2 separate regions of the Homo sapiens genome follow, and region 1 is linked to region 2. Evidence: promoter capture Hi-C in human tissues and cell types (Jung and others, 2019). All regions are on one chromosome and are shown on one strand. Each heading gives the region's core, a stretch centred on a gene start or on the middle of the fragment in contact. The rest is flanking DNA. Distances are from core to core; before and after follow the strand shown. Region 1 overlaps ZNF562 (zinc finger protein 562). Region 2 holds the start of ZNF559 (zinc finger protein 559).

Region 1 (3,260 bases), core at 599-3,098, 340 kb before region 2:
CTTCTGGCCTCTAGTAACCATCAATCTGTACTCTATGCTCATGAGATCCACTTTTTAGCTCCCACATGTGAGAATATGGGGTATTTGTCTGCTGTGCTTGGCTTATTTCACTTCCATGATGACCTCCAGTTCTATCCAGTTGCTGCAAATGACAGAATTCCATTCTCTTTATGGCTGAATAATAATCTGCTGTCTATATATACCATATTTTCTTTATTCATTCTTTCATTGTTAGACACTTAGGTTGATTCCATATTTTGGCTATTATGAGTAGTGCTGCGGTAAACAAGGGAATGTATATATATCTTTTCAAATATATTGATTTCCTTTCTTTTGGATATATACCCAATGGGATTCCAGATCATATGGTAGTTCTATTTTTAATTTTTTGAGAAACCCCCATACTGTTTTTTTTGTTTTGTTTTGTTTTTTTTGAGATAGTCTTGCTGTGTCACCCAGGCTAGAGTGCCATGGCATAATCATGGCTCACTGCAGCCTTGACTTCCTGGGCTCAGGTGATCCTCCCACCTCAGCTTCCTGAGTAGCCAGGACTACAGGCCTCCACTAATACACCTGGCTAAGTTTTTTTGTTTGTTTCTTTGATTTTTTGAGACAGAGTCTCACTCTGTCACTCAGGCTGGGGTGCAGTGGCACGATCTTGGTTCACTGCAACGTCCGCCTCCTGGGTTCAAGCAATTCTCTTACCTCAGCCTCTGGAGTAGCTGGGACTACAGGTGCACGCCACCATGCCCAGCTAATTTTTGTATTTTCAGTAGAGACAGAGTTTCACCATGTTGACCAGGCTGGTCTCAAACTCCTGACCTCAAATGATCTGCCTGCCTTGGCCTCCTAAAGAGCTGGGATTACAGGCATGAGCTACTGTCCCTGACTGGTTGTGTGTGTGTGTGTGTGTGTGTGTGTGTGTGTGTGTGTGTGCGCGCGCGCGCGCGCGCTCGCGCGCGTGCATGCAGACAGGTCTTGCCAGTTTCAGACAGGTTTTGTGCGTGCATGTGTGTACAGACAGGTGTTGCTGTGTTGCCTAGCCTGGTCTGGAACTCCTGGGCTCAAGTGATCTCCCACCGCAGCCTCAAGTTTTGGGATTAAAGGCCTGAGCCACCACACCTGAATATTGTTCTCTACAGTGGCTGTACTAATTTATATTCCCACCAACTGCATACAAGGATTATCTTTTCACCATATCCTCATCAGCATTTGTTATTCCCTGTCTTTTTTATAAAAGCCACTCTAAATGAGGTGAGATGATATCTCATTGTGGTTATGTGTGATTTGTATTTCTCTGATGATTAGTGATGTTGAGCATTTTTTTGTATGCCTGTTGGCCATTTGTATGTCTTTTTTTTGAGAAACATCTATTCTGACCTTTTGCTGATTTTTTTATCGGATTTTTTTTGTTATCAAGTTTGAGTTCCTTATATATTCTGATTATTAATCCCAGGTGGATAGTTTGTAAATATTTTCTCCCATACTGTAGATTGTTTCTTCACTTTGTTGATTGTTTCTTTTGCTGTGGAGAAGCTTTTTAGCTTGATGTAATCTCATATGTTTGTTTTTGCTCTTGTTGCCTGTGCTTTTGAGATCTTCCCAAGAAATCTTTACCCAGACCAATGCCCTGGATTGTTTCCCAAGGGTCTTCCTCTACTAGTTTTATAGTTTCAGGTGTTAGATGTAAGTCTTTAATCTGTTTTGACTTTTTTTTTTTATGCTGAGAGATGGCATCTAGTTTTATTCTGCATATGGTTATCCAGTTTTCCCAGCAGCATTTATTGAAAAGACTGTTATTTTCCCATTGTATGCTTTTGGTGCCTTTGTTGAAAATGAGCTGTCTGTACATGTGTAGATTTGTATTTAGGTTCTTTGTTCTCTTCCATTGATCTATGTGTTTGTTTGTTTTTTTTATGTCAGTACCATGCTGATTTGGTTATGATAGCTTTGTAGTATATTTTGAAGTAAGGCAGTGTGATGATTCCAGCTTTGTTCTTTTTGTTCAGTATTTCTTTGGCTGTTTGAAGTCTTTTATTGTTGCATATAAATTTTAGGATTTTTTTTCTATTTTTGCGATGAATGTCATTGCTATTTTGATAACGGTTGCTCTTAATTGTAAATTGCTTTGGGTAGTATTGTCATTTTAACAATATTCTTCTAATCCATGAGCATGGAATGTCTTTCCATTTTTTTTCTGTATTCTCTACAGTTTGTTTCATCAGTGTTTTATAGTTTTCCTTGTATAGCTCCTTCACATTTTTGGTTACTTTTTATTTTCTCTTTTTTTCAGAGGTGGGGTCTCACTTTGTTGCCCAGGCTGGAGTACAGTGGTGCAGTTGTAGCTCATGCAGCAGCCTTGAACTCCTGGGCTCAAGGAATCCTCCTGCCTCAGTCTCTTTTGAGTAGCTGGGACTACAGGTGTGTGCCATCATGCCTGGCTAATTTCTTTTTTTTAATTGAGACTGAGCCGTGCCATGTTGCCCAGGCTGGTCTTGAACTGTTGGGCTTAAGCAATCCTTCCACCTCAGCCTCCCAAAATTCTGGGATTACAATTGTGAGTCATCATGCCTGGTGCTGGCATTTTATAGTCTTTGCAGCTATTGTAAATGTGATTACTTCCTTGATTTCTTTTTCAGATTGTTCACCGTTGGCGTATATAAATGCAACTGATTTTTGTATGTTGATTTTGTGTCCTGAACATTTACTGAATTCATTTATCAGTTCTAACAGGTTTTTGGTAGAGTCTTTAGGTTTTTCTAAATATGATTATGTCAGCTGAGCATGGTGGCTCATGCCTGTAATCCCAGCACTTTAGGAGGCCAAAGCAAGAGGATCACTTGAAATCAGGAGTTCAAGGTCAGCCTGGGTAATATATTGAGGACCCCTCTGCCCCCAGTCTCTAAAAAAAAAAAAAGTTAGCATTGTCACACATGCCTGTGGTTCTAGCTACTCGGGAGGCTGAGGCAGGAGTATCACTTGAGCCCAGGAGACCAAGGCTGCAGTGAGCTATGATCACCACTGCATTCTAGCCTGAGCAACAGAGGGAGACCCTGTTTCTAAGGAGAAAAAGGTCATGTCATTGGCAAACATGGCTAATTTGACTTCTTTTTTAGTTGAGATGCCCTTTATTTGTTTCTCTTGCCTAATTGCTCTGGCCAGAACTTATAGTATTATGTTGAATAGAAGTGGTAAAAGTGGACATCCTTGTTCTGTTCAAGATCTCAGAGGAAAGACTTTCAATTTTTCCCTGTTCAGTA
Region 2 (3,226 bases), core at 567-3,066:
TTTGATTTGGGGGTGGGGATGGACAATGAAGTCTTGTTTTAAGCTTGTCTTCACTTTCAGGAGGTATTTGAGATACACGCTTAAAAGGGGAAAGTTCATTCACTTCCAATTTAAATGGCTCATGATAAAGTACATATACAAAAAAATGAAACAAATCTTAACAACTAGTGAATGTAGTTAAGGGTTAAAGACTTTTTTTTTTTTTTTTGGAGACGGAGTCTCGCACTGTTGCCCAGGCTGGAATGCAAGGGTGCAATCTTGGCTCACTGCAACCTCTGCCTCCCAGGTTCAAGCGATTCTCCTGCCTCAGGCTCCTGAGTAGCTGGGATTACAGGTGCCCACGCCCGGCTAATTTTTTGTATTTTGAGTAAAGACGGGGTTTCACTATGTTGGCCAGGCTGGTCTCAAACTCCTGACCTCGTGATCCGCCAGCCTCAGCCTCCCAACATGCTGGGATTACAGGCGTGAGCCACCACACCTGGACTAAAGACATTTGTTTTACTCGAGCTACAGATGTTCTCTAGATCAGTATTTGTTTTTTTTTCTTCTTTTTGAAACAGGGTCTCACTCTGTTGCCTAAGCTGGAATGCAGTGACACAATAATGGCTCACAGCAGCCTCGACCTCCCATGCTCAAGTGATCCTCGCATCTCGGCCTCCAAAGTGGATGGGACCACAGACACCACCATGCCCAGCTAATTTTTTATTTTTAGTAGAGACAGAGGCTTGCCCTATTTTTTCCAGGTTGGCATCAAATTCCTGGGCTCAAGCGATCCTCCAGCCTCAGCCTCCCAAAACGCTGGGATTACAGGTGTGAGCCACCTTGCCCCGCCCTCAGTAAGACTTTCAAATGAGTAACTGGTAGAAAACCCACCTGTCAAAAGTTATCTTCGCATTCATTATCAATTCAATCCCTCCTGCTAGTAAATCAGCCCGCACCGTGTTCCTGGGGATGCCCTCGTTTTGAACCTCTGGGGGAATCTACAGGGCGCTAGAGTGAGATCTAGGTGATGGCCTGGAACCACAGTTGAGTAGTCCTGTGTTTTTCCTTGGTGGTAAATTTTACAGTTATGTGCATTCATCCACTCATGCATTCGATGGTATCAGATCCATGTGCTCTCGAACAACCACCTGAAAAGGTTTCTTTCCACCTCGACACAACTTAAACTTCAAGACCCGACACCCACAGCCAGAACAAGTGCATGAAGTGCTCACCGGGACACGACAGAATTGTCAGGTTGCTGAGGCCAGGAGGACACCAAGCGAAGGTCACCGTGAACAGGAAGGCAGAGATGCTGTTCCTTATAGAGAAAAGGCACAACGCTGGATGTGGAGACTTTTTTTTTTTTTTCCATTAGAGATGGTTGGGGGGGGGGGTCTCCCTATGTTGCCCTGCCTGGTCTTGAACTCCTGGCCTCAAGTAATCCTCCTACCCAATCCGCCCAAAGCGCTGGGAATGACAGGCGTGAGCCGCCGCGCCGGGCCCTATGAGGCTTCTGCAGAGGGGAGCAGGGAAAATGGAAAGGCCGTGCCCCCCGCCTCCTCCCGGGCCGAGGCCCCAGCGCAGCCGCCTCGACCCCTGAGGACAGACCTGACTGTGGCTCTCAGAGGAGGGGCCGCGACTTGGGAGAGCCCACAAGATGCTCGAAATGCCCGAAAGTGCACGGGACAGGCTCCATTTCACTGGGCACCTCCCCTTTCCACCCTTCTACTCTCGCGTGGCTGCACCGGGACACCACCGAACGCCGCCCAGAAACAAAAACTTACCTCAGACGCCAACGGGAACGCGCTGTTAAGATGGCGGCCGTTATGCGCATGCGCCCACGCAGACACGCCGCGCACGCGCAAAGGCTAGGACCACCTAGGGGGCGGGGCCTCGGGTTCCCGGGCCCATCAGCTGCTGCGGCTTTTTCCAACCCAGAGCTGAGAGGAAATGCTGTTTACCTCCCCGAAGAGCGCAAGTGTCACCGGTAGGGGGTCTTGACTGCAAGCTGTCCAGGTTACTGGCGTTTTGAACAAAGAATTAGACAAAACGCCCAGCAAAGCAAAGAAAGAATGAAGCAACAAAAGAACAAGAGCTGGGATTTGTTGAAAACGAAAGCATACTCCACAGTGTGGGAACTGGCCAAGCGGCAGCTCAAGGGCTCCGAAACAGAACCTTCATGAGTCCCAATACCTCCTAGAATTTTCCCATTGGCCACTTCATGCTCACCTCCTGTAAATGAAGCGGTAGCCCGCGTTCAGTCTGATTGGTTGCAGAAAGCAGCCAACCAGAGTCTGAAGTTACAAAGGTCACACTCCTGTGCAAACATCTGATTGGTTGCAAAAAGCAACCAATCAAAGGCTAGGGTGAAGTTACGACGTTACAAAGTTACACTTCTATGCAAATGAAGACTCAACCGGCCATCAGTCTGATTTGTTGCAGACAGCCAATTTCCTATCTGCCAGCAGAAAAGGTCAAAGGGAGTAGCCTCTGGTCCTTTTGTTATTTAGGCGAGGAAAGTGAGGGTTTTCCTTTCAATTTAGTTCTAGGAAGTCGGCCTGAAACAGCCTTAAGTTCCCTGCCTCCCGACTCTATTCAGCCTCACAAGGGCTTGATTTTTGGTCATCTCACACTCAGAGACTAGAATGCTCCTATTGGAATTTGTTCAAAAATTAGCACATAGAGGCTGGGCCTGATGGCTCACGCCAGTGATCCCAGCACTTTGGGAGGCTGAGGCAGGCAGACCACTTGAGCTCAGGAGTTCGAGACCAGCCTGGGCAATATGGCAAAACCCTATTCCTATAAAAAAGACAAAAAACACAAAAATTAGGACGTAGTTAAGAGCATAGATAAGATTCATGCGGACTTCCTAAAAGTGAAAACACCAAGATCTGGGGTCGGGGAATCTAAGGCCAATTCGTGATAATTTCCTAAAGTTAAATCAAAGGAAAAACACCTGGGGCTGGGGGCAGGGCACCTAAGGCCAATTAACACAAACTTCCTGAAGCTAAACCAAAAGGAAAAACCCCATCTCCCCAAGATCAAAGACTACTCTCTCTACAGTAAAAAGTAAAGTAGAGGTTCCTCTTCAAAGACTTTCCTGCCCATCTAATTAGGAATAAATAGTAACTTCTGTTAGAAGCAAAATTTATTCAAAGACCTGTACTAATGTGTCCGGAATTGGTGGGTTCTTGGTCTCACCGACTCCAAGAATGAAGCCGGGGACCCTCGTGGTGAGTGTTAC

Evidence for each region. The method cuts DNA at HindIII sites, captures the fragments that hold promoters and counts their contacts. A contact is called where the count stands out against the background at its distance.
Region 1: a contact is called between a fragment that was not itself captured here and the fragment with the promoter of ZNF559 in region 2, in 2 of the 25 tissues and cell types used here (adrenal gland and dorsolateral prefrontal cortex).

What each region holds. Positions count from the first base shown.
Region 1 is chr19:9,667,411-9,670,670 of GRCh38, reverse strand. All of the region lies in intron 1 of ZNF562 (zinc finger protein 562), which reads left to right. Among named protein-coding and RNA genes, the nearest start is that of ZNF562, 6.1 kb to the left of the region's middle. The HindIII fragment of the contact is 8,758 bases long and covers 1-3,260 here.
Region 2 is chr19:9,322,769-9,325,994 of GRCh38, reverse strand. ZNF559 (zinc finger protein 559) reads right to left here and starts at 1,816. Exons shown (of 7, transcript NM_032497.3): 1 at 1,767-1,816; 2 at 1,215-1,300. It overlaps ZNF559-ZNF177 (ZNF559-ZNF177 readthrough), which reads right to left and starts at 1,816. Exons shown (of 13, transcript NM_001384659.1): 1 at 1,767-1,816; 2 at 1,215-1,300. RefSeq lists a silencer at 1,413-1,552 and an enhancer at 1,723-1,972. The HindIII fragment of the contact is 8,356 bases long and covers 1-3,226 here.